7 separate regions of the Homo sapiens genome follow, and regions 2, 3, 4, 5, 6 and 7 are each linked to region 1. The links are contacts of gene promoters, found by promoter capture Hi-C in blood cells and fetal thymus (Javierre and others, 2016). All regions are on one chromosome and are shown on one strand. The core of a region is centred on a gene start or on the middle of the fragment in contact, and the rest is flanking DNA. Distances in the headings are between cores, read along the strand shown. Region 1 holds the start of HTR2A (5-hydroxytryptamine receptor 2A). Region 2 has its middle 130 kb from the start of LINC00562. Region 3 has its middle 150 kb from the start of LINC00562. Region 4 has its middle 180 kb from the start of LINC00562. Region 5 has its middle 220 kb from the start of LINC00562. Region 6 has its middle 270 kb from the start of LINC00562. Region 7 has its middle 310 kb from the start of LINC00562.

Region 1 (3,133 bases), core at 405-2,904:
GTTTGTTTGCCCCCTGAGCCCCATCTCATCTGCTGGTGGCATGCACATGCTCTTTATTACCAGTGCGAATATAGCTGGGAAACTAATGCCACTCACCATACAGGATGGTTAACATGGACACGGGCATGACAAGGAAACCCAGCAGCATATCAGCTATGGCAAGTGACATCAGGAAATAGTTGGTGGCATTCTGCAGCTTTTTCTCTAGGGACACTGCCATGATGACGAGTATGTTTCCAGCAATAGTTAGAATAATCACTACGGCTGTCAGTAAAGCAGACCAGTTTTTTTCCTGGAGATGAAGTAAGGAGAGACACGACGGTGAGAGGCACCCTTCACAGGAAAGGTTGGTTCGATTTTCAGAGTCGACTGTCCAGTTAAATGCATCAGAAGTGTTAGCTTCTCCGGAGTTAAAGTCATTACTGTAGAGCCTGGTGTCATCATTTAATTGCATTAGGGAGTTCGTAGTTGAGCTCAAAGAAGTATTTTCTTCACAAAGAATATCCATGTCTAAGCCAGAACTTGTAGCAGATGAGGTGTAGAAGGACTAACAGGTTATAGTTTCTGCTCACCATTCACCTTGATGTACCCACACTCTGTAACACTGAGGCTGGTGTACATGCTGTTCTCCCGGGGCTGGATTTTTGTCTTCCATTATTACAATGATAGTTAAAGAACTGAACTGTGGTGGCTGTAAGTTTTCTTCATTCACAATTTTAGGAGAGTCCACTGTTTGGTTTTATTATTTTCTCACCAAACCGAGGACAAAAAAGCAGAATGAACTTTTAGCATAGAGGTTGCAGGGTTTTTTTTGAGCGCTCGGGAAGATAAATGTCCTGGACAAAGAAGAAAAGTTTTATAACTACTGGGACTCTTGTTTAACTATATCTCATTTTGTTGGTTATGCCGATGGTACTAGTTTAGCAACAGTATTATTAAAATAGCATGCAATCAGAAACAGTGGGGATGTACACATTCTACATTAAGAAAGTCAATTAAAAATACATCCAGTGTTAATCCCATAGTAATTGGATGTACTTTGGGTTACAGTTCTCAGCCATTCTTAAGCTGAATTGCCACAGCTGCTGTCAGGAATTTCAGCTCCTATAATGTTGCTTAGCTAATAAAAGGAAAACAAAAAAGTCTTAAGTAAAGATTAGCAGACAACTTTCCTCCCTGGAAATTCTCATTGAAATGATTACATGTTGGCCAAGCATGATTTCAAACCGGAAAGAAAATTACACAGCAATAAAATATAGCGGCATGAGAACTTACATTTGTCTTCAGGGTCCACACATGAGATACATTTGTTATTCTGTGACTCGCTGCATCTCTCACAGTAATTAAACTGGTGTAGAGTCCCCTCTTCTTGATCTTCCACCAGCATAATATGATAGTAATTTGGTTTCTGTTTTGCTGACTTCAAAAACTGCATGCAAGAGCTGAGCCAGCTCCCGCACTGCTAGGATCCTGTTGGCTTCCTCTGGCACGGCTCGGCTGGGTTCCTCCCTCCCTGTGCGGCTCGCCTCAGCAGGCACACATTTAGAAATCATTCACGAGCCCCTCAAAGTCGCACAAAAGAACTGCATGGGAAAGTAGGAAGAGCTGTCTGCACCAAGGGACTCCTGGTTTCCACGGGAATGGAGTAGCTCTCTGACTGTCTCGTTCATTTCATCAGACCTCCCTCTATGTGTATGTCATAAGCTGCAAGGTAGCAACAGCCAGGAGGGCGGACCAAACAGGCTTTTTCTTCTCCCTCTTTTTGCTACATATTAATATTGGGAAGTTTTCCTTTGCTTTTGAGAGAAACTGGAGAAATGGCCTTTTGTGCAGATTCCCATTAAGGTAGGTAAGTGGCACTGTGGTAATTTTTTAGGCTGAAGGGTGAAGAGAGAACATAAATAAGGCTAGAAAACAGTATGTCCTCGGAGTGCTGTGAGTGTCCGGCACTTCCATCCAAAGCCAACAGTGTTTGTGTCCAGAGTGGAATTACTGACATTGGCCACATAGGCTCAGGGTGGCTAGGCACGTCTGTGGTGATAACTCTGATAAACTATTAGCACTATTTTTATTTAATAGATACACCATTGAACTGGCTTATTTTCTTCAGCAGAAATATGCCACCCAGATATTATTCAAAACCTCACATGTGGTAGGAAATAAGTTGGTTTCGCAGTACCAATTTTTTTCCCCCACCAGTAATGACAACTTGCCTTACTTGTAAAGAAAGCCCTTTCCCAAGTAGGTTTCTAAAGGAGGCAGTTCGATCTCTCTCTTTTTGCAGGCATGAAAATATTTTCCTCAATAGTTGGGTTTTGCTACAGTTCTATCACCTTCTGTTCTTCACATTCTCCCTGGACAAATTCAACCACTCTCATGCCTTCAATATGTTTGTGGCCAAGTCTGTACCTTCATAGCTGATTATTTCTCTCAGTTCCAGACCTAAATCTCTAGCTGCCCATTGGCTCCTTCCATGGTAGCCTGGGAGACCTTGACCTCAGCATCTTCCCTCACTCCGCATCCCCCTGCCCGGCTCTCAGTGCTTGTTCCTACCCATTGGCTTGCATGATGGAATCACCACCTCTTCAGACAGCTGCTGTTATCCGCGACTCTTCCTTCATTCTCGCTGCCAGATCCCACTTCGTCTCCGGTGCTACCTCTGTATGCGTGTTTCTCACATGTCCTCTCCTGCAGCCTGCAGCTGGCACCCTGTGGTCGAGATCTAGCCACCTATTTCCTGGGTGGGTGCCTTAGTGCCCCCCTCACTGCCATGCCTGCCACCCTCCTACCCCTCCACGTTAAATATGCACGCTGGCGAGCAGGCAGCGGAGAACACAGACCTTAGAGTTCCTTGGTTTTGGATCCTAGCTCTATCACTCATAAACAGTAGAACCTCGCCTCATCTAGTTGCTCCCTTTAAAGCTCAGTCTTCTCACTTGTAAAATGGGATAATACCTTCCTCATAAGATTGTAGTGAAGCTAAACTGAGATAATGTGTGTAAGTATTTGGCCCATGTCTGGCTTATAGGAGGTTCTCAAGTAATGTCAGCCACTTTCATTCCTATTGATATTCTTACTGATATTAATGACACAATTGGCATCACTCCCATGCCTACACTCCTGCAGTCCCTTC
Region 2 (3,133 bases), core at 246-2,745, 910 kb after region 1:
TTAGACAAATTTACAAGAAAAAAACAACCCCATCAAAAGGTGGGCAAAGGATATGAACAGGCACTTCTCAAAAGAAGACATTTATGCAGCCAACAAACATGAAAAAAAGCTCATCATCACTAGTCATTAGAGAAATGCAAATCAAAACCACGATGAGATACCATCTCGCACCAGTTAGAATGGCGATCATTAAAAAGTCAGGAAACAACAGATGCTGGAGAGGATGTGGAGAAATAGGAAGCTTTTACACTGTTAGTGGGGGTGTAAATTAGTTCAACCATTGTGGAAGACAGTGTGGCAATTCCTCAAGGAACTAGAACTAGAAATACCATTTGACCCAGCAATCCCATTACTGGGTATACACCCAAAGGATTATAAATCATTCTACTATAAAGGCACATGCACACATATGTTTATTGTGGCACTATTCACAACAGTGAAGACTTGGAACCAACCCAAATGTCCATCAATAATAGACTGGATAAAGAAAATGTGGCACATATACACCATGGAATACTATGCTGCCATAAAAAACAATGAGTTCATTTCCTTTGCAGGGACATGGATGAAACTGGAAGCCATCATTCTCAGCAAAGTATCACACAGGAACAGAAAACCAAATACCGCATGTCCTCACTCATAAGTGGGAGTTGAACAATGAGAACACATGGACACACAGAGGGGAACATCAGACACCAGGGCCTGTCGGGGGGTGGGGGGCTAGAGGAGGGATAGCATTAGGAGAAATACCTAATATAGGTGATGGGTTGATGGGTGCAGCAAACCACCATGGCACTGTATACCTATGTAACAAAACTGAACGTTCTGCATATGTTCCTCAGAACTTAAAGTATAATAAATATACATATTTTTAAAAACACAAAATAATAAAAATAATAAAAATTTTAAAAAGAAGCCAAAGTGGAAAATCAAGCCTTTAAACTTTTTCATTTGTAAAATACTTCATATTTTCAAAATACCTTCACACCATTATCACATTTTATCTTAATAACATCTCTATGATAGGTAGATGCTCATTGTTCAGAAAAAAAGAGGGGAAATGAGGTTTGCTAATAGACCAATAAGCTTTGCAAACTCCCTCCTTTGAAGCGGGTCAAGGTGAAAGCATGCAGGGGTATTTCCTACATAATAAGGATGATCACCCTCATTATATCAGCCTGAGGTCATTGTTGAGCCACTACACATAAAAACCTATTTCATAGCTACTTTCCTCCTCACCAAACAGCAAGTAGAACACATGAGACTCTGATTCACTCTTCAGAATCCTTCAGAAAGGATTTCTGATTTCCTTCAGAAAGGAAAAGATATTGTCTATTCTCTAATATTTCATTTTCAGTAGCATCACTGTTTATGTGTGACAGTCTACTTCTTCACAGTGATTTCCCATTTTTCCTGCTTTATCCTTCGTCTTCAACTTTAGGCAGACCATCTCAAAGCTCAAGAGAACCCTGGGTGATTTCTAGTTTTTTAGGCTCCCAGAAAAATGAAATACAAAGAGAACCAAAATAGAATTGCAAATTTATGATTTAAAAAGTAATACTTTTAAGCAAATATGCATATAAAAAGACACTCAACATCATATGTCATTAGGGAATTTAAAATAAAACAACAATGAGATACCATTACACACCTATTGGAATGGCCAACATCCAAAACACTGACAACACCAACTGCTGGCAAGGATGAGCAACAAGAACTCTCATTCATTCATTCTAATTCTGGTGAGAATCCAAAATGATACAGCCACTTTGGAAGAAAGTTTGGCAATTTCTTACAAAATGAATGTACTTTTACCACATAATCCAGCAATCATGCTCCTTGATATTTACTTAGATGAGATAGAAATTTATTTCCACACAAAAATCTCTACATCGATGTTTATAGAAGCTTTATTCATAATGGCCAAAACTTGAAAATAATCAAAATGTCTTTCAGTAGGTGAGTGGTTAAATAAACTGTGATACATCCATACAATGAAATACTATTGGGTGCTAAGAAGAAATTAGCTATTAAGCCATGAAAAGACACGGAGGACACTTAAATGCATATTACTAAGTAGAAGAAACAAATCTGAAAAACTATGTGATTCCAATTCTAAGACATTTTGGAAAAGGTAAAACTACAGAGAGGTAAAATGATCAGTGATTGCCAGGGGCTTAAGGGGAAAGAGGGAGAGAGAGGTGGAACATGGAGGATTTTTAGGGCAGCAAAATGACTCTGCATGATACTATAATATTGGATACATATAATTGTACATTTGCCAAAACCCGTACAGTGTACAACTCTAAGAGTAAATTCTAATGCACACTATGGATTATGGGTGATAATGACATGTCATTGTAGATTCACCGATTGTAACCAGTCTTGTGGGGGGTGTTGATAATGGAGAAAACTATGCATGTGTCGGGGCAGGGAATATGGAAACTCTGTGTACTCTCCACACAATTTTGCTGTGAATCTAAAACTGATCTGAAAAATAATCTATTCAAAAAATTAATGCTTATAACATGTACATACACACACACAAAAATACAAATGTATGTATAACTCCATTGAGAGATAACATCAAAGCTCTTAATTTGAGGCCCATAGCAATTAGTATTGGTAGTTGCAAACAATACTCTCTGGTTTAAACAGAAGGTAATTTATTAAAGGATATGGTTAGCTTGCAGAATTTCTAGAGAAACCAAAGAATTCCATCTAAATGGTGCATATCTTGAAACCATCCACAAGCAATAATCACAGGAAAGACTAGCCACCTTGGCCACCGGCCACTTGTCCCAGAACACACATGGGACTGGATGCCAAAACTCTGCCACAGGAGCCCCAGAAGAACCAGATACCTCCACCATCGCTTACCAGATGGTCAGTCTTCCCACAGCTGCCTCCTTATGTTACTTCTCTATCCAAGTCTTGCACGGATGTATCTGACTGGAAGTACCTGAATCGCATTCTTCCAAATAGCCTAGAACAAAAATTTTTTAATCTATCATGAAATGGTGAGACTACCAACATGGGAAACTATCAAAATGCTGGAAATCTAGAAAGTAACTCAAATCTCAAGTTATAGTAAACAGACGTAGTATGGAACAAGTTAAACCTGAAGAAAATC
Region 3 (3,133 bases), core at 227-2,726, 880 kb after region 1:
AGGTAGCTGGACTTGAGCCAGCTTGCAGATGCCCACGCAAGATCCTGCTGGCAGGTGGATCCCAACAATGAGAACCTGTAGAGTGGATTGTCTGGGATGAAGACTCTATAGAGGAATCAGAAAAGATCAGGAACCTGCGGGGAAGCTCCAAAGCGTTCTACAAAGAACCCACTCACACATATGTCCTGAAAGAGGGGAATGCTTGTCCAAGAGACATTTACTCAAAGCCAGAGAAGCAAAGTAACAGCAGAAAAATGATGAAGATGTCAGACAAGAAACACTGTGTCTTTCCATATCCCTCCACAGCTCCTACCAAAGGAGACAGAAACCCAAAAGAGCAGAGGTGGAGGAAGAAATGAAAGGGCAGGTTCTGCAAGTCTCCTGACCACAGACAGAAAGGGGAAAGGAGGATGATAGAAAATAATCATTAAATTGGATGTCCAGTTGAAATTTTAAGCTGGGTCAGTACATTCATTATTGATATAGGTTGGATGTTTGTCCCTTCCAAATCTCATGTTGAAATGTGATTCCCAGTGTTGGAGGTAGGGCCTGGTGGGAGGTGACTGGATCATAGGGGTGGATCCCTCATGAATAGTTTAGCTCCATCCCCTTGGGGATAAGTAAGTTCTTGCTGTTAGTTCTAGAAAGATCTAGTTGTCTAAAAGTCTGGGACCTCTCCTTTCTCTCCCTCTTGTTCCCTCTGTCACTATATGACATACTGGTTCCCCTTCTCCTTCCACCATAATTGGAAGCTTCCTGAGGTTATCACCAGGAGCAGATGCTGGCACCACACTTCCTGTACAGCCTGCAGAACCATGATCCAAAACAAACTCTTCTTTCTTATAAATTACCCAGCCTCAGGTATTTCTTTATAGCAATACCAGAATGGACTAACACAGTTTGGTCTCTTATAAGAGATGTAGTGGCTTAAAACCACACACATTTACTCTGTTTCTATGGGTCAGGAATCTGGGTACAACTTAGCTGGGTGTTCTGCTTCAGGCTGCAATCAGGATGCTAGCTGGGGTTACAGTAATCTCAGGGCTCCACTGGGAAGAATCCACTTCCAAGCTCATTCATGTGGTTGTTGGCAGGATTCCATTACTTATGAGCTCTTAGACTGAGGGCCTCAGTATCTCCCTTCCTGTTGGCCAGAGGTGACCCTGAGTTCCCTGCCATATGGGCCTCTCCAACATGAGGGTCATTCCAGAAGCTGCCTCCCACAGACTGCATTAACAGAATAACTGAAAGTGATCTGAGGGCTATGGTGCTACCCAAAATGTCATTTATGGCTGGAGAAAGAAGCCTGAACAAAGCACAGGTGAAAAAGGCATTGGAGAAAAACATTCAAACATTTACATTTATATCCATCAAGTTCAAACAGTTCTATAAATTGGATAAAAGCATTTACCTTCTTAAAGGAGGCATCAATTGAGTAGTAAGGAAGGGAGACAGTGTGGTCATAGAGGGATCTCCTGAACTCATTCTTTTTTTTTTTTAACTTTTTTTTAAATTATACTTTAGGTTTTGGGATTCATGTGCAGAACGTGCAGGTTTGTTACATAGGTATACACGTGCCATGGCAGTTTGCTGCACCCATCAACCCGTCATCTACATTAGGTATTTCTCCTAATGCTACCCCTCCCCTAGCCACCCCCACCCAACCCGTGTGTGATGTTCCCCTCCCTGTGTCCATGTGTTCTCATTGTTCAACTCTTACTTATGAGTGAGAACAGGTGGTGTTTGGTTTTCTGTTCTTGCATTAGTTTGCTGAGAATGATGGTTCCCAGCTTCATCCATATCCCTGCAAAGGACATGAACTCATTCTTTTTTATGGCTGCATAGTACTCCATGGTGTATATGTGCCACATTTTCTTTATCCAGTCTATCATTGATGGACATTTGGGTTGGTTCCAAATCTTTGCTGTTGTGAACAATGCTGCAATAAACATACGTGTGCATGTGTCTTTATAGTAGAATGATTTATAATCCTTTGGGTATATATCCAGTAATGGGATTGTTGGGCCAAATGGTATTTCTGGTTCTAGATCCTTGAGGAATCACCACACTGTCTTCCACAATTGTCAAACTAATTTACACCGACAACAAAAAAAGAAAAATTCAGGCCAATATCCCTGATGAGCATTGATGTGAAAATCCTCAATAAAATACTGGCAAACCAAATCCAGCAGCACATCAAAAAGCTTATCCACCACAATCAAGTCAGCTTCATCCCTGGGATGCAAGGCTGGTTCAACATACACAAATCAATAAACATAATCCATCACATAAACAGAACCAATGACAAAAACCACACAATTACCTCAATAGATGCAGAAAAGGCCTTCGATAAAATTCAACACCCCTTCATACTAAAAACTCTCAATAAAGTAGGTATTGATGGAACTCATTCTTTGGAGACCATGAGAACCAGATTTGAAGCCAAGCCTCACCACAGCAAGTACCCTTGGGTTAATTAACACCTTTGAAATGCAATCTTCTTCTCAGTGATCAGGATTGGATGAGCATAGTAGATGATGTATATGTTTGTGTGGGGTGTTTAGCTTATACATAGTGGCTATTAATATCATTATCCTTATGTAGTCCTCTAAAGCAGTGGTCCCCAAACTTTTTGGCATCAGGGACTGGTTTCATGGAAGATAATTTTTCTATGGACTGTGGTGGTCGTTAGGTTCAGGATGAAACTATTCTACCTCAGATCATCAGACATTAGATTCTCATAAGGAACACAAAACCTAGATCCCTCACATGCGCAGTTCACAGCAGGGTTCACACTCCTATGAGAATATAATGCTGCAGCTGATCTGACAGGAGGCAGAGCTCAGGCAGTAATGCTCGCTCACCCACCACTCACTCCTTCTGTGTGGCCCAGTTCCTAACAGGCCACAGACAGTACTGGTCCATGGCCTGGGGGTTGGGGACCCTTGCTCTACAGTTCATCTATGCAACATTAGTGACTGACAGAACCCAAAGGCAATTGTCCTTATTTTTATTTTAAAGAACAAACATGGCAGAAGTCACAACAGTCATTTATACATATGTAAGTACAGATTTTTAGATTGTACCTGAATTTTGTCTAGGTAAGTAATTTTGATAAACTAACTCTCTGCTC
Region 4 (3,133 bases), core at 447-2,946, 850 kb after region 1:
GCAGAAATAGCGCCTGTTGTGATCCAGCCTCAGAAGTCACATACTGTGACTTCCAGTACATTCTATGAGTTAGAAGCAAATAACTAAGTCTACGCACATGCCAGGGGAGGGAAATTAAGAAGGGGAGGGACATGAGGTACGATCTTTCGAAGGAGCAATTTTGAAAGATTCGTGGACATATTTTAAAACCACCACATAAGGTTGTGTAGTCCCCAGATGAAACCGTTTGTGTTCAGTAAAATATTCTCACTTTAAAAAAATACATTTATTGAGCATTTTATAAGCATGACTTGAAAGTGATAAAATACTTTGATCACAGTCATTCTTTATGTGTGGCATGCTGACTGCATTGAAACTACAGAATTTGAATAACAATCCTTTGCAAATACAAGCATTTGTACAGTGATAGCTCAGTGTGCCAGATAATAGGCCACTGCCTCTCAGTGCCAAACCCACCCTCTGTACTCTCCCCTGTGATTCTCCTGCCAGCTTCTCCTTGTCAGGTGCTGCCGACAGGAGAATTAAACAGAGATTGCAAGGCTAGAGGAGGTAGAAGAGATTTGCTCCTTCCTCCTTGCTTCCTGTGTCACCCTGCTTTCCTTCTCTACACCAGCAGGTGCAGCTCCTTCCCAGAGCATCAACGGAACCAGTGCATTTTCCCGGTACTTGTGCATCTAGCCCCATTGTATGCCATCAGAAATACCGGCCAACCAGTGTCCCTGCCTTAGAAGCCAGGAAACCTACTCTCAGCTCAGAGAAACAAGTACCTGCTAAGCAATGGCTCCTTCTCAGAATTCTCGGTTTCAGCTCCGTGAGATCTCTCTTCCATGTTTCTAAGGTTTTCCAATTCCCACCTTTTCTCCTTGTTCTCCCAGCCCCAACAGTGGTAGCTACTTCCTGCATTTGATCCCTCCACAATAACTTCATTCATTTTGCCTTTCATTTCTTAGTTAACCGTTCTTTACATTAAATTCTCTCTTTTAAAACAAAACAAGTGGTGGTCTCTGTCTCCTGACTGTGTCCTGACTGCTACGTTCATAATGTAATTGTCCAAAAGAACAAGGAGATATGTGTAATGGAGGCTGTTGCTCAGAGTCTGGAAATTAGGTAAAGTCACAGGAAAATATTAGGGTGCCCTTACCAGTGCTTGGAGTCATTTAAGGTTGTACAACAAAATTATCAGTCATGAAATGGGGAACTATTATAAGCTGAATGCTTTGAATGTGAAAAGATAAATCTATTAGTGCTGTGGGTCTTTAAAGATCAAATCAGATGCACAGGGAAACACTGACTACCTTCAGAGCACCCTAGAGATGGATAAAGGGAGATGAGGGGTCCCACTTATGAAGAGGGCATGCGGGAAGTACTGGAGAACAGGCTATCCTGATACTTACAACCCTTTAACCAGATACAAACTCCGCTAAGGTGTCACTCTGACATTAAAATTAGGAATCTTCTATCTTGTGCTGAAAAGGGAAACCTTTGTGTTCATTCTCCCCGGGCATGAGAGATATATGAAAAGTAATCCTGTGTCACCTTGCTGTCTATGACAGAAATATTAGCTACATCCTCAATTAATAGCAAAGATTTTCATCAAGTGAAGGCAATACTGTCCCAAACTGGCAGGTATAGATTAAAGGAAAAAATAAGTCCAGAAGTCTGTTTTAGAAGGAAACTGTTATATGATTTTTTAAATGCCATCTGAGCAGAGAAAACACATTAAAAGTGGGGTGCAGAGGGTCACATATAAAACCGACTGGTTTTGACCCCAAACCATCTAGTGTATTTCTTGTAGAAATACTAATAAAGAACTTTTCTAGTTCTCTCTCTCTCTGTCTCTCTCCCTATCTCTCTCTCTGTCTCTCTCCTGCCCCCCCCACCCCTCCCTGCCTGTCTCACCATGGGTCGCCTAAGCACAGACACATCCATCTATCTGATTCACGGGGTAGTGGGAAGAGATAGTCTGCCTTTTCTGTTTCAACCCCAGCTACTTTGTTCTTTTTATCGTTTTTATTCCTTAGATATGACTATGATTTACATGCATATTTCTTAAATATATTCTGGGGGGTTAAAAAGACATCACTGCCAGAGCTACAAATTAGACTACCCAAGGCCATCTCCCCTTTACCCATTATATAAAGAAAGGAACAAGAAACATGGTTACAGAGTCACTGACGTGAATCCAGAAGTCAAATTTTAAAAAAAAAAAAAAAACAAAAAAGGAGTTTAATATGAGTTGGAAATAACAGAATATTAAATCAACCATAATAGCATGGATTACAAAATTTTAAGTATATACACAGTAAGTTCTAGAGAAGAACTACTATAATTGAAATTTTATTATACGAGTACTTATTTCAAAATTGCTGGGTTGAAACTAAATTAGCTCTTCCATATGGTTAAGTGGTTGTTTTTAGTTTGGGGTGAAATTTTGTTACAAGGCTAAGTATGAAATCTGTTTCCATAAATTTGCTTTAATTGCCTGCGTCTCCTAACCAAGAAGGAATATAAAGAACTGGGGCTATAAAGTGATAGTTTACCACCACCAAGACTTTAAGAAAATGTTACCAAATATTACAAGTTTAATAAAAGTCTTAACTATTGGAAATGTGAGGTGTTCTCAGAAAACTCAGTTCTTTATCTGGGCTAAAATCCAGGATCAGAGCACTAGCCCTCCACCACCCACAACACATAAAGGGCATAAAATCAGGGCAGAGGTAGCAAGACTCTACCCTGTGCTCATTCTCAGAGGGAGGAAACATGTACAGAAATTAAGGGCATGGGCCGGTCGCAGTGGCTCACGCCTGTAATCCCACCACTTTGGGAGGCCAAGGCGGGTGGATCACGAGGTCAAGAGATTGAGACCATCCTGGCCAACATGGTGAAACCCCCTCTCTACTAAAAATACAAAAATTAGGTAGGCATTGTGGCACACGCCTATAATCCCAGCTACTCGAGAGGCTGAGGCAGGAGAATCACTAGAACCCAGGAGGTAGAGGCTGCAGTGAGCCAAGATTGCACCACTGCACTCCAGCCTGGGCAACAGAGTGAGACTCCATCTCAAAAAGAAAAGAAAAAAGAAATTAAGAGCATGGTCTTTGAGGCAGGCAAACTGAGTTGTGAGTTTGAACTC
Region 5 (3,133 bases), core at 215-2,714, 810 kb after region 1:
TAAACAAGGAGATATACAGCAAATGAACAAAATGAGCAAGATGTATAACAATGGATTAAATGAACAAGAGGCAAGGCATGGTGTCTCACGCCTGTAATCCCAGCACTTTGGGAGGCCAAGGTGGGTGGATCACCTGAGGTCAGGAGTTCAAGGCCATCCTGACCAACATGGTGAAACCCCGTCTCTAGTAAAAGTACAAAAATTAGCTGGACACGTGTCATGCACCTGTAGTCCCAGCTACTCGGGAGGCTGAGGCTGGAGAATGGCTTGAACCTGGGAGGCAGAGTTTGCAGTGAGCTGAGATCATGCCACTGCACTCCAGCCTGGGTGACAGAGCAAGACTCCATCTCAAAAAGTAAATAAATAAATAAGATATATAATAAATGAATGAAATGATTGGGGGGTATATGGCAAATGAATGAAATGAATGGGGGTATATATATGAATTAAGGTAATCAGGAGCAGACAGTATTTGGAGGTCTCAGTGGGGGCAGAGAGCTGTACACAGGCTCAGGCAGGTCCCTGGGCTGCAGCTGAATACCAGTCAGCTCGAATAAAGGTAGGGTAAGCATTCAAAAGAGCAAAGTATTCCTGTGAATGAAAAATAAGCTAATTCCTAAAGGAGAGAAGGACATGTTAAACTGTTCGGTAGATGCTATTCCTGACTGTATTGATTTTATGTGTGGGTTTTTTTTTTTCTAACAATACTAGAGAAAGTGACCCCAAGATTCTCAGAATCAATCATGGCAAATCTCAATAGTGTTCTATTCCAGGAAGTGGTCTGACCCAACAAAGGTTTGTTTCACATGCAGACTCAATCGCCTAAAATTTATACCGCCCAAAGCACTGAGCCTCCTGTGATTCTGTCAGTGGTAATTTTCTTGAGTTGTATAAGCTTCATTATTAACAAATCCAAAGAGGAAGAAAAACAGGTGCAGGGTACATCTATCCTGTCACATTTCACAGACTGTGGGTTTAAATCACCCAGATGCTTACACATAATCACAAAACAGTATTTATAGCTGACTCCAAAGCATTCAAAGGCTGATGATCCAGTTTACAAATTCGACTACCCTGTTCCATCATTTTACCTACTTTCTTTTCATTTCAGTGCTTGTCATTATCCCCAAGTATTAGGTTGGCAAGAAGAAAAAAAAATAAAACTCAAACTAGTCTATTAAGAACTTAAGGTCTCAGTGAAGATGGCTGGTAAGGATTAATGCAATTGACTAAGATGACATTTTTGGATTATGTGTGTATTTCAATCATCTATGCTTTCCCCAGGCCAGTTCATGTCATGAAAATTGATATTCACTAGCATAGTCATGCCTTCCAGATCCTCCTTACCCTGAGAGTTTGTACGTAGGCTCTTCTCTACTTATAAGATGCAGACGTGGAGAAATGGCATGATTTAGGATTACAAAAAGATGGAATTATGCTAATCCCACACCAAAGCCAAGAAGAGCAGGAATGGATTCACACCCTGCTATTCCCATGACCTATGGACCATTGAAAACCACAACTCCTTCCCCAGTTTACTGAAATGTCTTGAAGGCTTTATAAAGGGGGCTTTTCAGGGACAGCATCTGGGAAATGTCACTCAAGGTGTGTCAACATCATCCTGCTCCCTGGGAGGGACAGCACATTTGTTCAATACAAATGCGTATTGTGTATTAAGAGACTTCGTCTTTCCTGTTTATTTCCTTGGCATTTTCCCAGGCAAGTGGGTCAGAGGGTGAACTTTAAAGTATGATTTGATTACTGACATTCTTGGATTTTTGGTTGTCAGGCATTGCTTAACTCTTGTTACCTCGTGCCCTCTGTGTCTGCAAAGTGGTGATTTAGTTCTGACTCACTTGATACACAGGGAAGATAAAAAGGATGATCACAAAACTGCCTTTCACTTAGCACTTACCAAGAATTTGCCATTTACAGCAACATATCAGGTTCTGTGTGGCTTATTACATGAGATGGTCACAACAAGGTACAACCAGGAAACACTTCTTTTTTCTCCCATTGCTGGTCTGCTACGTCAAAGCTTTCTGTTCCATCCCTGGACAAGAGCTCAGGCAGCTCCCACCACTTTCATTCACTTTAAGACTCACTCTTAGATATTGAAAGTCCAGTAGAGTCATATCAAAACACCAAGATCACATTTACAACTTTCTCCTCCCCTTTAACCCAGGCCTAGCCTGCAGGTCAGACAACTACAGTAGGTATAAGGGTGCCCAAACTGGTCTCTCATGTCTTTTCTGCCTTTCCTTCTCTATCTTCCTTCTCTCTCAGCCTCATAGAGCCAAAGGGGAAGAGGAGCAAACTACAGAAACTCCCCCTGAGATCACCCCAGCTGGACATCAGCCCTCAAGTGATGAAGACGTCCATACTTCCAAGGTTCCCCGCAGCTGTGTTGAGCTCTCAGACCTGGGCAAGGGGCTCTCTGGCCAGCCTCTTTCAATCTTGCTCTAATAAAGGCAGGAGGCAGACAAATGCCTAGGCAGCTAGGGAAGGGTCTCGGGTGAGACCCCCGCTTCAAGCTTAAAGCAGCCTGAAAGCTGAAAGACCAGAGTGCTGGTTCCGGATGAAACCTGCAACCCAGAGGGAAAACTTCTGCCCCTGTTTGTCCACCCTTTCCCAATTGATTCTTTCTGAATAAGGCCTTTCAACCAATCAAATGCTGCCTTTTCCAATACTATCTATGGCTTGCCAGGGCGTGCCTGCCTGAGCACTGGGGGAATGGGATGGAGCCACCAGGAATTCATGCCTTATGCAAGGGAGGAGTGGCCTCTTTAGCGCGTGTGTGGTAGCCCTGATATTCAATTAGGGAGGTGAAAACCTGTTGGCAGGACCTCCCCTCTTTTGCCAAGAGCTTTTTTTCGCTTAATAAATTCCATCCTTCTCACCATTCAATGTTTCTGCATGCCTAATTTTTTCTAGCTGTGAGACAAGAACACACATTTAGCTGAACTAAGGAGCAAAAATCCTGCATCACCTCCATCTCCTATCCACAGCAGTCAAACCCCCAAAAGATCTAACTGTAGGTGATCTTTGGAAAGGATCTCATCCAGATGGCCCTGTTACTTTGGTCCTTGGGAAATCAGCATTGCTATAAATCCGCCCAGGTACAGCCCACCCA
Region 6 (3,133 bases), core at 187-2,686, 760 kb after region 1:
ACATGAGCAAACACAATTTTGCACCAACTCACCCAATTCAAAACTAATGAGAATTAAACACTGTATTTTTCCTCTTCTCTTCTTTTGAATCTCAACTTAAATGCTAACTCCTCAAGAGACTTTGCTAGAAAAGATCCTCTAGTTATTCTAGAGCACAGTAGCCTATTTATGTCTTCTATGCAGTTATTCAAATGTGTAATTTTTAAATTGTATTTAATTGTTATTCTGACTCTTCCAATAAGCTTTATGAAAGCAGGGATCATGTCTGTCTGTGTATCCAACTCCACTACGTAGAATTGTGCCATATACATTGTAGAGGTTTAGTAACTTAACAAGTATGTATTTTTAATTCTCTGTAAACACAAGCACATATGACATAAAGGGATTTAAGCAAATCTGCTTACACAGTGCTTACCAACAAAAGTTCTTGACATTAATACATCAACTAAGCCAATTGTAATAAAATAGGAGATCAAAATGAAATAAAGCATAGAACTGGCAGGAAGCAAATTAAGACACTTTATCCTTGGTACTCTAAAACAAACAATGGATTTAGAAGTTTTCTATTGCTGTGTAACAATATTACCACAAACTTAGCAGCTTAAAATGATACCCATTTATTATCTCACCATTTCAATGAATCGGGAGTATGAGAAAGGCTTAGCTGAGTCCTCTACTTCATATCATAAGGTTCCAGTCAAAATATCAGCCAGGGCTGCAGCCTCATCTGAGGACTGACTGGGGAAGGATCCATTTCGAAGCCTACATGGTGGTTGGCAGCATCAACTTCTTATAAGCTGTTGGACTGAGGACCTCAGTTTCCTAATCACATACAACCCATCACTCTTGTCATATTCTATTGGTTAAAGATCCTGGGTTAAAGATCCTGCCCACTTTCAAAGCAAGGGGACCACAATGGTTGGGGTATCAGGAGGCAGGGGTCGAGGAGGCACCCTGGAGTCTGCCTATCACAGATGGAACAGTTATAAGGAGCCTGGTTCATTTAATTTTTTTAACTTTTAAGTTCAGGGGTACATGTACAGGTTACATAGTTAAACATGTGTCATGGAGGTGTGTTGTACAGATTATTTCATCACCTGAGTATTAAGCCTAGTACCCATTAGTTATTTTTCCTGATCCTCTCCCTCATCCCAACTCCCAACCTCCAAAATGCCCCAGTGTGTGTTGTTTCTTTCTATGTATCCATGTGTTATCACTTAGCTCCCACTTGTAAGTGATAAAATGCAGTATTCAGTTTTCTGTTCTTGTTTAGTTTGCCAAGGATAATGGCCTCCAGCTTCATCCATGTCCCTGCAAAGGACATGATCTCATTCTTTTTTATGGCTGCAGAGTATTCTGTGGTGTATATGTACCACATTTTCTTTATCCAGTCTATTGTTGATGGGTATTTAGGTTGATTCCCTGTCTTTACTATTGTGAATAGTGCTGCAATAAACATACATGTGCCTGTGTCTTTATGATAGAATGATTTAGATTTCTTTGGATATATACACAGTAATGGAATTGCTGGGTCAAATGGTATTTCTATCTTTAGGTCTTTGAGGAATCACTACACTGTCTTCCATAATGGTTGAACTAATTTACTCTCCCACCAAAGGTTAATAAATAAAATATTTTCCGGTAAGAAAGAATATGTCCAGTCTCACTGGATTCCCCAGAGTTTCATGAATAAAATATTAAAATAACTCAGAAAAGTAGTCTAGGCATTCATATAGAAGAACGTTTAATAGCTCTTTACAGCAGGAAAATAAACCAAAAAAAAAGTGAAAATCTTCAGAGTTTTATCAAAGACAGATAAATAAATAAGTTATATAATGCAAATAGCATAAAAAGCAGCTAAAGATATTATATACGGAAGCTAAATGAAAGCCAATGGCATATGTGGGAGACTGTAACACAGTCCCATCCGTGCCACAATTTACTGTGGGTGAATCATACTTCCTTGCCCCCACTGGCTTTGGGCTTAGTCATGTGAGTTTAACTGATTGAATGTGCGTGGAGATGACAGTATGCCAGATGTGAGCAACGTCTGTGAGAGGTATTACAAGTTTTGGTTTGTTCCATTTGCATTCCTGCCATCCACCATGACAGTAACTCATCCCAGAGAAGATCCCAGAGTGAGAAGACATGGCAAGCATGGTGAAACCCAGCAGAGCCTTGGCCAACTCTCAGACTTACAAGTAATGAATATTTGTTGTCATAAGAGACTGAATTTTTGAATTGTTCATTATAAAATATGGTATCAGCAAAATGCTGACAACATAGTATAGAATTTTCCAAGTAATGGATCAATAAAATGAGAAGTAACTTAGCATATTCCCTACAATTAAAATGCTTGTTTCCAGATGAAAGTGTTTCTATGCATTTTATACCCCTCACTCTCATCTCTAACAACATAGTTTCTTCTTCCTGGAATGTCCTCTTTGGGGTTTTGGGGGGTTATTTAAAAACTGCTCCTTCCCCCAAAACCTGAATTTAGGATACAGTAGAAGTTTCAGAGAAATCAGCCAGAGACTAACAAATCCCTTTTATTCTCATTAATTTACTATCATTGTTGAAAAGAAAGGTTTATGTGTTACAGTCCAAGAGGCCTAAGATGAAGCCCAGATCTAAGCTTCCCACTCAAGCCCAGGGAGACATGGACTGATACAGCCTTTGCTTCTGAGGGTTTCTACCACTAACTTTAAAACATTGAAGAAAGCAGGCCTGAGCTGAGCTCCTTTTCCAAAGCCACTAGACTAATACATTACTCCTGCTCACATGGTGGGGAGAGACACCAAGAATGTTAGTCTAAGAAAATTTCTGGGAGAAAACAAGAGGGGAGAAAGTCTTTTGTGTTTTAGAAGCATTAATCTCTTAAGCTCCAGTATTTTCTCAACATCCTAATTACAAAACTTATTAGTGTTACCTTATAATTTAAACCTCATTACAAAGTGGACAAAGGACATGAACCCACATTTTTCAAAAGAACACAAATGACCAACATGAAAAAATGTTCAACATCACTAATCATCTGAGAAATGTAAATTAAAACCACAATGAGATACTAACTTATATCAGTCAGAATGGCTATTACTAAAAGGACAAAAAAAACAACAGATATGGGTGAGGA
Region 7 (3,133 bases), core at 376-2,875, 730 kb after region 1:
AGAGAAATTTAATCTCTTAGCGATATTATAGGTAAGGATTTTGCTTAACATGTTGATCAAGTACACAAACAGACCAAGGGCTTTCTGAAAAGTTATAGGCTTCCTGACATATAAACATCATATAACCTTGGAAATCAGTGAACTAGAAGATGAAAGGGCAAAGACTATTACCAAGGTTAAGTTTTCTCTCCAGGTATGATTATAGAAAGATATGTAGAGTAAGGCTCAGGGTGGTCAAAACAAGGTAAAAGGGACCTTGAACGTGTTTCAAAGGCAGAGGTTTACTTACCTAGGGTGGAATTTAAAGTGTTAGCAACACAATTCTCTCATTTGAGTTTTACCCAAATTTCTTTAAAGAATTATTTATGCATTCTGTCTTCATTTTTCTAACCTTTTACTCATATTTTACTTTTACCTTCATCATTTCACTGACATCTTTTGGCAAAGTCAACAATGACTTCCATGCCACTTAAGCTCATGGACAATTTTTGTTTATCTTACATTACCTCTTGGTAACACTTGATCCTGCTGACCAGGCACTTCTTCCTACAACATTCTCTAGCTTTGCCCTGTGACACAGCCCTGTCCTCTGGCCACTTGTTTTCTGTACTCTTCACAACATGCTCTTCCTCCAGTCTATTGGCCAGTAAATGTTAGAGTTTCCGAGGTTCATTTTTAGATCTTTTTCTCTTCTTCCTCTCTACCGTCTTAATAGGTCATTTTATTCACGTGTGTGATCTCACTCAAGATTATCTACAAAGATAACTCAGAGCTCCCTAAATATCTCTAACCTGTATTTCTCTCCTGAGCTCTTGACTACTTAACATCTGTACTTGTATATTGAAAACACACCTCAATTTCAACATGTCTAGAAGTGAATTTGTGATCTTCCCCAAACCTGTTTCTCAAATCATTCCCATCTCAGTGATAGTATCACTGTTGTCTTGTGCATGTCTCAAATAATGAGTTTGCTTTTTTACCTGCCTCTCCCTTACTCCCAATAACTAATCCATCAACAAATTCAGCCGCTTTCCCTCCTCTATATCTTCTGAATCTATCCTCTTCTGTCCATCAACAGCTAGAAGATCCCCTCCCTTGTCTTCTCTTGCCTCCTTTGATCTATTTCTCCTATTATAGTGACCTTTCCAATACAGAAATCTGATCATGTCACTCTTCAGATTTAAATGCTCCAATGGCTTTACATTGTTTTTAAGATAGAAATCTTTAATATACATTATAGGGGCTGCATTACCTTGGCTCTTTATTTTTTTCTATACTATTTTTCACCACATTAGTCACTATTCTGTTTTCCAGCCACAGTGGTCACATTTCAGGTCTTACAATGATCCATACTCTTCTTCCACAGGGCCTTTGCATAGGCTGTCTCCTCTGCCAGGAACATTCTTCTCATCCCCCAGTGTTATATCTATTAACTCCTCTAATTCTTGCAAATCCTCAGCTCAATCATCTTTTACTTAGGAAAGATTTCCTGGATCTTTCGTCTCATTTTTAATTTTACAAATATGTGTTCTTTTCCTAATATTGATTTAACCCACTAAACAGTAATTTCCAAGGAAAAAGAAACATGACTGCTTTGTTAACTGCTCCATGCACATCACAATTCCTTGAACATAGTGGATGCTCGATAAATACATGTTGACTAATGCAAGGAATAAACTCTCATGTCCAACAACTTGCTTCCCTTTCTGCAATCTGATAGTCCATCTCATACTATCAGTAGACAGTCCATCTTATATTAAGCCCTTTTTATGCTGTTGAACAATGAATCAGGGAGGAAGGGAAAGCAAGAATATATCCAGCATCTGAAGCTGAGATTAAAGATGTTAAGGTAATGCAGAATTAAAATCAGTCTAAAAGGGAAACACATTACAAAGAAAGAACCACACTGTCACAATCTGACCAGTGAGTAAGATGACATTTCTGGACGGTAATTGGGTGTCATCTTGGCAGTCTGAAATTGTAAAACAGACTCCTGAAGAAATCAAGGACTCACCACTGAGCCAGGGAATCCCATCATTAGCCTGATTATGAGGCATTTTATAGCCCCTTTTATTAAATAACACAGTGGTTTGTACAGCTGCAGAGCATCAGAACCATTTAGGAGCTTTTATTTTAAAGTACAGCTATCTGGACCACACTTCCTGACACTTAATTCAGTTAGCTTATGGTTGGGATCTGTAAGCCCAGGTCTGGAACAAGGTAGTTACAATAGGAGCTGGAACATCTTGCTATTCGGGAAAGTAAGGATATGTTGCTAACCACTTCTCGCCATACACACACACACACACACACAACGTGAGCATGTCAAAAAGACATAGGAGCCAGCTTGAAGAAGAGGGGTTCCCACGGCCAAAGCTGGAACAATAAATAAGATTAGATTATAACCCATTGAGTATAATAGGAATCTATGGGTCCATATGGATAACAGAGGTAGATGTAAATAGATGATGGATGAATAGAATATATAGATAATACATAGATATATAGGATACTGGCTTGTTCCTTATAGTAGAAAATCAACTGATAATGGTGGAGACTAGCTTGGGCAAGAATCAACAATGGTTGTTAAATCTTAGATGCAATGTTTAATGACAAGTAGGATATATGCACAATCTCACAGCATTTTCTCATAAATTATTTATAAGAGGAAAAATGGTAACTATACAGTGGAGAAACTGGATAAAACCTTTACCGGGTGATCAAAATTAAAACTACCAAGAGGCAGATAGGTATTGTGGCACCTCTGGATGTGAAGCCCTGCAAAAGACATACGTCACTTTTGTAGTGTTCTGGTAAGGGATACATAACCTAAATTTAATTATGAGGTAACACTAAATGAACCCAAAGCAAGGATCATTCTATAAATAACTGACCTCTATTGTTTTAAAGTATCAATGCAACAAAAGACAAAAAAAGACAATATTCCTTTAACAGAGATTAAGGAAATATGAAAATTAAATGCAATACATAATCCTAGACTAGAGCTTGGACTGGAAGAAAAATTATTATATAAAGACATTACTAACAAAATGGACAAAATTGGAATATAAATTATATAGACAAATAAAAATAGCAATGTTAAGTTCTTGAAACTTAATAACTGTACGATGAT

Evidence for each region. Contacts are between HindIII fragments. The CHiCAGO score rates a contact against its expected background, and 5 or more counts as called.
Region 2: a fragment that was not itself captured here is called in contact with the fragment with the promoter of HTR2A in region 1 in 1 of 17 cell types (endothelial precursors); the score reaches 5.7 in endothelial precursors.
Region 3: a fragment that was not itself captured here is called in contact with the fragment with the promoter of HTR2A in region 1 in 7 of 17 cell types (naive B cells, megakaryocytes, total B cells and 4 more); the score reaches 9.8 in naive B cells.
Region 4: a fragment that was not itself captured here is called in contact with the fragment with the promoter of HTR2A in region 1 in 2 of 17 cell types (M1 macrophages and M2 macrophages); the score reaches 6.1 in M1 macrophages.
Region 5: a contact is called between a fragment that was not itself captured here and the fragment with the promoter of HTR2A in region 1, in 2 of 17 cell types (M1 macrophages and endothelial precursors). The highest score is 5.3, in M1 macrophages.
Region 6: a contact is called between a fragment that was not itself captured here and the fragment with the promoter of HTR2A in region 1, in 1 of 17 cell types (M2 macrophages). The highest score is 5.6, in M2 macrophages.
Region 7: a contact is called between a fragment that was not itself captured here and the fragment with the promoter of HTR2A in region 1, in 1 of 17 cell types (M2 macrophages). The highest score is 5.3, in M2 macrophages.

The regions. Positions count from the first base shown.
Region 1 is chr13:46,895,399-46,898,531 of GRCh38, forward strand. HTR2A (5-hydroxytryptamine receptor 2A) reads right to left here and starts at 1,655. Exons shown (of 4, transcript NM_000621.5): 1 at 1,276-1,655; 2 at 97-836. The coding sequence starts at 508. The HindIII fragment of the contact is 5,377 bases long and covers 1-3,133 here.
Region 2 is chr13:47,804,514-47,807,646 of GRCh38, forward strand. No RefSeq gene overlaps it. Among named protein-coding and RNA genes, the nearest start is that of LINC00562, 130 kb to the right of the region's middle. The HindIII fragment of the contact is 822 bases long and covers 1,085-1,906 here.
Region 3 is chr13:47,776,943-47,780,075 of GRCh38, forward strand. No RefSeq gene overlaps it. Among named protein-coding and RNA genes, the nearest start is that of LINC00562, 150 kb to the right of the region's middle. The HindIII fragment of the contact is 1,452 bases long and covers 751-2,202 here.
Region 4 is chr13:47,747,477-47,750,609 of GRCh38, forward strand. No RefSeq gene overlaps it. Among named protein-coding and RNA genes, the nearest start is that of LINC00562, 180 kb to the right of the region's middle. The HindIII fragment of the contact is 4,454 bases long and covers 1-3,133 here.
Region 5 is chr13:47,706,829-47,709,961 of GRCh38, forward strand. No RefSeq gene overlaps it. Among named protein-coding and RNA genes, the nearest start is that of LINC00562, 220 kb to the right of the region's middle. The HindIII fragment of the contact is 1,143 bases long and covers 894-2,036 here.
Region 6 is chr13:47,659,275-47,662,407 of GRCh38, forward strand. No RefSeq gene overlaps it. Among named protein-coding and RNA genes, the nearest start is that of LINC00562, 270 kb to the right of the region's middle. The HindIII fragment of the contact is 2,393 bases long and covers 241-2,633 here.
Region 7 is chr13:47,623,534-47,626,666 of GRCh38, forward strand. No RefSeq gene overlaps it. Among named protein-coding and RNA genes, the nearest start is that of LINC00562, 310 kb to the right of the region's middle. The HindIII fragment of the contact is 3,753 bases long and covers 1-3,133 here.